2 separate regions of the Homo sapiens genome follow, and region 1 is linked to region 2. Evidence: promoter capture Hi-C in human tissues and cell types (Jung and others, 2019). All regions are on one chromosome and are shown on one strand. The core of a region is centred on a gene start or on the middle of the fragment in contact, and the rest is flanking DNA. Distances in the headings are between cores, read along the strand shown.

Evidence for each region. Contacts are between HindIII fragments. The study calls those that stand out against the background at their distance.
Region 1: a fragment that was not itself captured here is called in contact with the fragment with the promoter of OR1I1 in region 2 in 2 of the 25 tissues and cell types used here (aorta and bladder).

Annotation. Positions count from the first base shown.
Region 1 is chr19:15,628,983-15,634,714 of GRCh38, reverse strand. CYP4F8 (cytochrome P450 family 4 subfamily F member 8) reads right to left here. Exons shown (of 13, transcript NM_007253.4): 13 at 4,076-5,522. The coding sequence ends at 5,357. Among named protein-coding and RNA genes, the nearest start is that of CYP4F3, 9.0 kb to the left of the region's middle. RefSeq lists a silencer at 5,100-5,149. The HindIII fragment of the contact is 7,008 bases long and covers 751-5,732 here.
Region 2 is chr19:15,079,025-15,084,232 of GRCh38, reverse strand. It overlaps OR1I1 (olfactory receptor family 1 subfamily I member 1), which reads right to left and starts at 2,022. Exons shown (of 2, transcript NM_001004713.2): 1 at 1,957-2,022. The HindIII fragment of the contact is 16,029 bases long and covers 1-4,013 here.

The sequences.
Region 1 (5,732 bases), core at 3,005-5,504, 550 kb before region 2:
AAATAGCCTCAAAAGGGCAAATTTAACAATTCTTGGCCTTAAAGAGGAGGTGGAGAGAGATCAGGATAATAACAGAACTTCCCAAACCTAGAGAAAGATATCAACATTCAAGTACAAGAAGGTTACAGAAAAGCAGGCAGATTTAATCCAAATAAGACTAACTCAAAACATTTAATAGTTAGGCTGAGCAGGGCGGCTCACACCTGTAATCTCAGCACTTTAGGTTGCCGAGGCAGGTGGATTGCTTGAGCCCAGGAGTTTGAGACTAGCCTGGGCAACATGGCAAAACCCTGTATCTACCATATATATATATTAGCCGGGCATGGTGGTATGCATCTGTAGTCCCAGCTACTTGGGAGACTGAGGTTGAAGGACGGCTTAAGCCCAGGGGGCAGAGGTTGCAGTGAGCTGAGATCATGCCTCTGCACTACAGCCTGAGTAACAGAGCCAGATCCTGTCAAAAAAAAAAAAAGATTAATAATTAAACTCCCAAAGGCCAAGGATAAAGGATCCTAAAAGCAACAGGAGAAAAGAAACAAATAACATACAAAGGAGCTCCAATATGTCTGGCAGAAGACTTCTCAGTGGAAACCTCATATGCTGAGAGAGTGGCATGACATATTTAAAGTGCTGAAGGGAAGAACTTTTATCCTAGAATAGTATATCCAGCAAAAATATTCTTCAAACATGAAGGAGAAATAAAGATTTTCCCAGACACACAAAACCTAAGGGATCTGCAGACCTGTCTTAAAAGAAATGCTAAAGGGAGTTCCTCACTGAAAGAAGAAGATGTTAATGAGCAATAAGAAATCATCTGAAGGTACAAAACTCACTGTAAGTACATAGACAAACACAATACTATAACACTGTAACTGCGGTATGTAAACTACCCATATATTGAGTAGAAAGACAAAAAATAGTTGTTATCTATTGCTTTGAAAATGAAATCTTTACCCCAAAACTTATTTGATGAAGTTACTCAATTTGTAACCAATGATACCTCAAACTGTCAACTTGTATGAAGACAATTCTTGCAACGTGAGACAAAGCACTTTTATATCATTTTGTAACATCACGCCATTTTTAAGAAATAGAGTGGTTTGAATACATAACCCAAATATTTGTTAAAACCACAAAATAATGTTTCATAAAATGATTTGATGTCATGGAAAGATGTTAACAGCATATCGTGTGAGTAGCCCAAATTAACAAAAATTTGAGATAAAATAGCATTTTTTGTTTGGGTAAAATTCACAAAACATAAAATTCACCATTTTAAAGGGTACAATTTAGTAGCATTTGGTATATGCACAGTGTTGTGGAAACTTCACCACTATCTAGGTCCAGAACATCTTCACCACCCAGCAGGAAATCCTGACCCCATTAGCACTTCCTCTTCCCACTTCCCCACAGCTCCTGACACCACCAATCTCCTTTCTGTCTCTATAGATTTGCCTATTCTGGACATTTTTTTTTTTGAGACAGAGTCTCACTCTGTTGCCCAGACTGGAGTGCAGTGGCGTGATGGCATGATCTCAGCTCACCACAACCTCCACTTCCTGGGTTCAAGTGATTCTCCTGCCTCAGCCTCCCAAGTAACTTGGATTACAGGCATATCCCATGACGCCCAGCTAATTTTTCTTGTATTTTTAGTAGCGACGGGGTTTCACCCTGTTGGCCAGGCTGCTCTTGAACTCCTGACCTCAAGTGATCTGCCTGCCTGGGCCTCCCAAAGTGCTGGGATTACAGGCATGAGCCACCACACCCAGATGGACATTTCTTATAAATAAATCATACACTATGTGACCTTTTGTGTCTGACTTCTTTCACATACTATAATGTATTCAAGGTTCATCCAGGTGGTAGTATGTATCAGTACTTCATTCCTTTTAATGGCTGAGTAATATTTCATTATACGAATAGATCACATTTTCTTTATCCATCCATCTGTTAATGGATATTTGAGTTCTTTCTACCTTTTGGCAATTGTGAATAGGGCTGCTATAAGCACGAATGTACAAGCTTTTTTGTTTGAACAACTGTTTTCTATTCTTTTGAGTATATAGCTAGGAGCTTAATATGATATCGTGGAATTGCATCATATAGTAATTCTATGTTTTAGTTTTTCAGAATCTCCAGACTGTTTTCCACAGCAGCTGCACCATTTTTACAGTCACACCAGGAATGGATGAGGGCTTCGATTACTCCATATCCTCTCCAACATTTGTTATATTCCCTTTTTTAGATGCTAGCCATCCTGTAGGTGTTGAGGTGACATCACGTTGTGCTTTTGGTTTGCATAATGGGAATAATGTTTAGCATCTTTTCATGTGCTCATTTGGCAGGAAAATAGCACTTGTAAACAAAATTACATGCAAATGTGATATGACACAGCTATATAGATGTAAATAAACATTTTCATATGTAAAAAGATCACATATGAATTAAAAACTGGAAGCATATGCAAGAAAATATAAACAGTGATTATTCTGACATTTTGAAATTATGGATGATTTTTATTTCTTGCAATTTCTTCTATAAGCATGCATTATTTATGAAACTTAAACTTTAAAGGGAAGAAAAATTGACTTTCAGCATAGAATATATTAAATAGTTATTTATTTCGTTTTGCAATGTTCCATTCTTATTTTGCAGCCAATAATCCTTCCAGGTTCCCAATCTATGGGCCCCTGAAAAGCGCTCAGTCCTTGGACTCTGCGCCCCGCAGGAGCCCCCTACAGTCAGACAGGGGAAAGTCCAGGTGCAGCCGCTGTCCCTGGTGCTGAAAGGGGCGGCCCCTCCCCCCCCCCGCCCGCCCCCCGCCCAGCCCACACCCTCTACCTTCCTCTCACTTGAAAACCTTCATGACCTGAACTTTTTAGACAGGAATAAATTCTGAGTCGTGCCTCTCTGGAAAAATTAATTTTTTCCGTTCTAAGCTTTGGGCCAACCTTTCACCAAAGTCCACTGTAGATTCTCGGATGTAATAACGGATATTTTGAGCACACAAAACATTCGAATGAATTTTCCTCAAGAGAAGGTTGCCATGCATCCCAAAGCTTGAAGCAACCTCTTGCGATTTTTTAAAATGTCAAAACTTCAAATGTGATGCAAAAAGAAGAGAAAGAGAGGCAATTAACCCTCATGGACCGCTAATACCCAACAGATGTGGCTCAGGGATGTTGTAGATACTGGCTTGTTCAGTCTTCCAGCAGCCCAATGAGGTGAATACTATTAAGTGGTAAACAAAACCAGGGCTACAGAGATAAACAAGTTTTCCCCAAGCCAATCAGCTAGTGAATAGCAGACTGGGATTCTGACATTTATAATACAACTTCAAGGTGATGTTTAGTACAATTCCAAGGGGATATGGATTATCTTAGCCCATTCAGGCTGCTATGACAACATAACTTACACTAGGTAGTTTATAAACAACAGGTATTTATTGCTTACAATTTTGGAGGCTGGGAAGTCCAAGATCAAGGTGCCTGCAGGTTCAGTGTCAACTAAGGGCCTGTTCCTCATAGATGGCACCTTGCACGTGTCTTTACATGGTGGAAGGGGCAAACAAGCTCCCTCAGGTCTCTGTTATAAGGGGTAATCTCACTTACGAAGGCAGAGCCCTCACAACTTAATCACCTCCCAAAGGCCTCCCCTCTTAATACCACCATATGCAGACTAGGCTTCAATGTATGGATTTGGGGGCTACATAAACATTCAGGTCACAGCATGGATCTAGGGTCATAGACCCTGACTGCTTCTAGCCATCTGCCCCATCTGCCCTAAATAGCAGTCCCTGTCCTCATGAGCCAAGATGGAGCTCCAGAGGCCACATCAATCTTGCAAGCAATTTGTTAAAAAGTCAAAAAATAGCAGATGTTGCCAAGGCTATGGAGAAAAAGGAACATTTATACACTGTTGGTGGAAATATAAATTAGTTCAGCCACTAAACTAATGGAGTGTGGAGAGCAGTTAGGATATTTCTCAGAGAATTGAGAGTTGAACTACCATTTGACCTAGCAATCCCACGACTGGGTATACACCCAAAAGAAAATAAATCATTCTGCCAAAAAGACACAAGCATCCACATGTTTATCGCAGCTCTAATCACAATAGCGAAGATGCTGAATCAACACAGGTGCCCATCAATGGTGGAGTGGATAAAGAAAATGTGTAGAAATACACCATGAAATACTATGCAGTCATTAAAAAGTACAAAATCATGTCGTTTGCAGCAACATAGATGCAGCTGGGGGCCATTATCCTAAGCAAACTAATGCAGGAACAGAAAACAAAATATTGCATGTTCTCACTTATAAGTGGGAGGTATGCATTGGATACACATGGTAATAAAGATGGGAACAACAGATCCTGGGGACTACTAGACAGGGGAAGCAGGGAGGGGGAAAAGCTGAAAAACTGCCTATTAGATACTATGCTCACTACATGGGTGATGGAGTCATTCATACTCCAAACCTCAGCATGATGCAATATACCTTTGTAATAAATTTGCATGTTAGCACCTGATTCTAAAATAAACATTGAAACTCAAGAATTTTTATTCTCACACCTGCAATTCTGGCACTTTGGGAGGCTGAGGTGGGCTGATCACTTGAGGCCAGGAGTTTGAGACCAGCCTGGCCAACATAGCAAAACCCCATCTGTACTAAAAATACAATTAGCCGGGTGTGGTGGTAGGCGCCTGTTATCCTATCTACTCAGGCGACTGAGTCAGGAGAATCACTTGAACCCAGGAGGTGGAGGTTGCAGTGAGCCACTGCACTCCGGCCTGGGCGACGAGAGACACCATGTCTCAAAAAAAAAAAAAAATCTTCCAAGCAGCAGGAAGGAAGAGGGGAGGACTGAGCAGACAGACTGTAGCAGCTTTCTCTTAAGAAAGGTTACCAGAATTACCACATAATCTTTGGCTTCTACACATGGGACAGCCACAGTCACTTAACCAATTGAGCTTCAAGAAAGGCTTTCAAATGTGATCTGTATTTCAGGCTGCTATGCACCTAGCTAAAAAACAGGGATTCTAAATTGGCAAAAATTTATATCAGAATACACAATTATTTTGGGGGGGAAAAAGTCTTTACTTAGACTCTGGGAGATCCCACCCTCAGCACGGGGCTCCTGTGCTCACCCAGAGAGGCAGTGAGTATCTTGGGCACAGAGACATCTCCCCGCCTCTTCCCAGCCAGGCCCTAGATCCCCGCAGTCCTCCAGCGCCCCCTACTGGCCATCCGCGGGACTGAGGCACAGGGGCCAACACAGATTTATTACCGGAAATCTGAAAAGGTAGTTGGTGCAAAGGTAGGTGATGCAAAGGTAGGTGGGTGGGTCACTGCAGGCCTCAGCCCAGGGGTTCTACTCGCAGCCAAAGTCCGTCCTCCGCACGCAAAACAATCTCCGGCGTCCTGCGTGGCTCCCTGTGGTCGGGCAGGATGCGGAAGCGCAGCAGCGTGAGCGCCAGGACCACCTTCATCTCTGCCATCGCGAACTTCTGCCCGATGCAGTTCCTGGGGGCCAAGGTGGAAGGTCTGACTGCACCCAGGACCCAGATCCCGGCCCCACTGCGCCAGGAACCAGGCCCGGAACCCCCAACCCCACCCAGATCACCTTGGGCAGACAGGGGGGAAGCTGGGTCTGGGACCCCCATGTGGGCTTGCATATTCCCAGAGCCTAGCCCAGACCCCAGCCCCAACTGAAACCAGACGGGGCAGGAGGCT
Region 2 (5,208 bases), core at 773-3,272:
GGAGATTGTGTTAGCTACAATTTACAGTGAGCAGACTGGGGCTGAGCGAGCTGCCAGGGGCACTCAGCTTGCAAGTGCCTGATCTCGCCTTTGAATTTAGACTTATTTTCACTCTCATACTCCACTGCCTCCCTAAGAATGGCCACTCTCACCTCTTTATGAGGCATTTCGAAGCTAAATTCTGTGCTGTCAACACGTGCAAGGGAAAAATATTCAATTACAAGCATTTACACGTGTTTCTTTTCGAGACAGAGTCTCACTCTGTCACCTAGGCTAGAGTACAGTGGCACGATCTCGGCTCACTGCAACATCCGTCTCCTGGGTTCAAGTGATTCTTGTGCCTCAGCCACCCGAATAGCTGGGATTACAGGTGTGCATCACCACGCCCGATTAATTTTTGTATTTTTAGTAGAGACGGGGTTTCGCCTCTACTAAGCCTGTTGGCCAGGCTGGTCTTGAACTCCTGACCCGGTGATCCGCCCACCTTGGCCTCCCAAAGTACTGAGATTACAGGCGTGAGCCCAGTAATCTCATCATTTCAGCGCCCAGCCGATGAAAGGGGTTTTTAGGAAGGTTAGCAGCATAATCTCCTTGGTAACCCCAAGAGGCCTTCAGCAAAGCCCTATGTTAACTTTTTGAGGCTTTTTAGTGTTGGACTTGAGGTTTTTGCAATGCAATGCTTGGTTTTCTCTAGGCTGGATAGAATACTGCGATTCCCTTCCTGGCAACATATTTGTAACAGTCCTCAGTTGTTGACTTGGGTTGCATAGAGCAGCGGTTCTCAACCTTGAGCACGCTTCAGGGTCACCTGGAAGGCTTGTTAAAACACAAAAAGCGGGCCAGGCATGGTGGCTCACACCTGTAATCCCAGCACTTTGGGAGGCTGAAGTGGGAGAATTGCTTGAGGCCAGGAGTTCAAGACCAGCCTGGCAGACAAAGTGAGGCCACCCCACCCCCAATCCCGCCCTGGATCTACAAAAAATAAAACAATCTGCTGGGCATGGTGGCATGCTTCCATAGTCCCAGCTACTCAGAAGGCTGAGGTGGGAGAATCCCTTGAGTCCAGGAGTTAGAGACCAACCTGGGCAACACAGTGAGACCCCCATCTCTACAAAATAAAAAATTAGCTGGACATGGTGGCACACACCTGTTAGTCCCAGCTGCTTGGGGGGCCAAGGTAGGAGGATCTCTTGAGCCCGGGAGTGTGAGACCATCCTGGGCAACATAGGAAGATCCCTGCCTCTACGAAAATAAAATTAGCCAGGCATGGTGGTATATGTCTGTTATCCCAGGTACCCGGGAGGCTGAGGAGGGAGGATCACTTGAGCTTGGGAGGTCGAGGCTGCGATGAGCTATGATAATGCCACTGCACTCCAGACTGGGCAACAGAGCGAGACCCTGTCTCAAAAACAGAAAGAACAAACAAACAAACAAAACAATCCCCCCGCCCCCTCCCCCCCGCTCCCAAACTCATCATACACAAAAAGCTAAGCCCTTTCCCTGAAATGTCTGGTGTAAGAACCAGCACTTCTAGATAGTTTCCAGAGGATGCTGGTGCTTCTAGCCCAGGGACCACACTTGGGGAGCTGCTGCATTGGAGAAACTTGTTTCTCAAGACCTCTCCTATCTGTGCAGGTGTCCTGCAGCTGCAGACCCTCAGTGCTTTTCCTCCACATATCCTGCCACAGAGGGTCTGCCGTCTGCGTGCTTTGTCCACTCAGAGAGTCTAGACTTGGTCTCAGTCTCTTCTCTCTCTCTCGGCCTCTAGGAAGGAGACAGATTCCTCTCCCACAACCCTCCACCCCCACCCTCAGCTCAATCCTTTCCCCATCCCTCACCTGCTCACCAGGATGGCATCACCAAGGGGAGGGTCCCGGGAAGCCTCCTTCTCCACCAACTGCTAGAGGATCCCGAGGTCAGCACTAAACCCCTAGGAAGGGCATGGGGGCTACTCACCTGTGATCGCTGGGGTTAGCCTGATGTCTATGGGAAGGATTCATATGTGTACCCCCCCGCCCCCAGACTCTGCAGGTGAGTGGGGGAGCCAGGGGAACATCAGGGTATTTATAGTCTGGGGACTCTAGGAGACTTCGTCCCCATAGCTCCTTGTTAAGGAAGCGGATGCTAATTATTTTGTTTCTCCTCTGCCACATGTGACCTGTTCTTTTGGAGATGGGTGTGCTTTGGGATCATCGAGTGGGTAAGAAGAGGAAACAGTGACTAGGGATTCACTCTCACTAGGACATCTCCCTACGGTCTCCTTCCAGCTCAGGCTGAGCTTCATGGAAGCTCCCAGGCAGAGAGGTCTGGGGGGTCCCAGACTCCAGTCGGGCACTCAGATGCCTGAATCTGAGAGGTCCTTTCATTCATTGCATTATGGAAGAAACTGGCTCATTAAGGAAAGCTCCGAAGAGTATCAATCAATCAATAAATCGGTATTAAATAAATAAATTTATCAAACACTTTTTTTTGAGATGGAGTGTCACTCTTTCACCCAGCCTGGAGCACAGTGGAGCAATCTCGGCTCACTGCAACCTCCACCTCCTGGGTTCTAGCAATTCTCCCTCCTCAGCCTCTTGAGTAGCTGGAATTACTGGTGCCCACCACCATGCCCAGCTAGTCTTTGTATTTTTAGTAGAGACAGGGTTTCACCATGTTGGAAAGACTGATCTCAAACCTCAAGTGATCTGCTCTCCTCGGTCTCCCAAAGTGCTGGGATTACAGGCCTGAGCCACTGTACCCGGCCTATCAAACACTTCTTGATCACCTGCTTGGCACTGGAGTTGGACACGGTGGCTCATGCCTATAATCCTAGCTACTTGGGAGGCCAAGGTTGGAGAATCCCTTGAGCCTAGAAGTTTGAGACCAGCTTGGGCAAAACAGCAAGACCTTATATCTACAAAAAATTTAAAAAAATTAGCCAGGATTGGTGGCACATGCCCGTGGTCTCAGTTACCCAGGAGGCTGAGGTGGGAGGATCACTTGAGCCCTGGAGGTTGAGGCTGCAGTGAGCTGTGATCGCACCACTGCATTCCAACCTGGACAACGGAGTGAGACCCTGTCTCTTAAAAAAAAAATCCTTCCTATCAGCCACACAGAACGTGTGTAGGATACTTGTTGAAATTCTCCTAGGGGCTTTAGTAAATATTAGAATTACTTTCCCTAATAATATTGGCTGTTGGACTGTTGGCTCTTGGATCGTAACTCTGTGGGGAGGTCAGCTTCAAAGCAAGAACAAGGTAGACCAACTTCGCGTTGGACATATGGGGATATGAGTAGGTGCCAATCCCACTGTCATTATTTTTTTAAAATTAAAATTATTTTCAGAGGCTGGGCATGGTGGTTCACACCTGTAATCCTAGCACTTTGGGAGGCCGAGGCAGGTGGATCAATTTAGCTCAGGAGTTTGAGACCAGCCCGGCCAACATGGTGAAACCCTGTCTCTACTAAAAATACAAAATTAGCTGGACGTGCCTATAGTCCCAACTACTCAGGAGGCTGAGGTGGGAGGATCCCTTGAGCCCGGGAGGTGAAGTTTGCAGCAAGTTGAGATCATGCCACTGCACTCCAGCCTGGGTGACAGAGTGAGACCTTGTCTCAAAAAAAAAAAAAAAATCAATTTGAGCCCAAAGGTTGGGGAAAAACCCACCTAAAAAGTCCATAAGGTGGCCAGACATGGTGGCTCACACCTGTAATCCCAGCACTTTGGGAGGCTGAGGCGGGTGGATCACTTGAGGTCGGGAGTTCGAGACCAGCCTGGGAAAAATGGTGAAACCCAGTCTCTACTAAAAGTACAAAAATTAGCTGGGCATGGTGGGTGGGCATCTGTAATCCTAGCTACTTGGGAGGCTGAGGCAGGAGAATCACTTGAACCTGGGAGGCGAAGATTGCAGTGAGCCGAGATTGTGCCACTGCACTCCAGCCTGGGTGACAGAGCAAGACTCCATCTCAAAAAAAAAAAAAAAAAAAAGTCCCACTGGGTGAACAAACTTTTGCCACTGTCCGTGGTTCTGAAAAAAAATTATTTTGCCCAAAGCCATGGTAGGTAGGACATTGGTGTCTCCCATCCGAACTCTCCTGGGAATTCTGAAACCAGTTATAGAAGGAAGAGTGAAGAGAGATAAGGAGGAATAAAAGATATATTCAGGAAGAAAAAAGCCTTTCTTTTTGATATGACTCTATAGAAAATGTTATCAAAAATAACATTTCCCCCCCTGGGAAATTGGTATAAGGCAGGGCCAGTTATACACTCCCAGAGTCCAGTTTTCTAGTCATGTTGGTTTGGAGTCCAGTGCTGATTGCTTTGGGAAAATCTTAGAGTCTTTATGTGGCAATGAGTCTGGTACCAGGAAACCATCAATGAACATTGGGAGGGAGGAAGAAGGGGGTGGTCTACTTCATTCTATCCTCTCTAGGAGTGAGGTCCAGATTTCTTCTCTCAGCATCTTGGGCTTCAGCCACTCTCCACCCATTCTTCCAAGCACAAATGCTTTTTTTAAAATCCAACACCTAAAAGGTTTTTATATAGTCCCTGATTTTCTTCCTTGATTAGAATCTAGGAGAGATGGGGATTCCTGAATTCTGGCAAGGGTCAAGGGCTCCTGATGTGGCAGTGGTCAAGTAGAACGGACAGTCTTTTAAATTTTTATATGTACTTAGTTATTTATTATTTTAATTTAAGTTCTGGGATACATGTGCTGAACGTGCAGGTTTGTTACGTAAGTATACATGTGCCATGGTGGTTTGCTGCACCTATCAACCCATCATCTAGGTTTTAAGCCCTGCGTGCATTAGATATTTGTCCTAATGCTCTTCCTTCCCTTGCCCCACACCACCTGACAGGCCGTGGTGTGTGATGTTCCCTTCCCTGTGTCCATGTGTTCTCATTGTTCAACTCCCACTTATGAGTGAGAACATGTGGTGTTTGGTTTTCTGTTCCTGTGTTAGTTTGCTGAGAATGATGGTTTCCAGCTTCATCCATTTTCCTGCAAAGGACATGAACTCATTGTTTTTTATGGCTGGAGAGTATTCCATGGTGTGTATGTGCCACATTTTCTTTATCCAGTCTATCACTGATGGGCATTTGGGTTGGTTCTAAGTCTTTGCTATTGTGAATAGTGCTGCAATAAACATACATGTGCATGGGTCTTTAGAGCAGAATAAATAGCAGAATCCTATTTATTTATTTTTTGATAGAGTTTTTTCAAA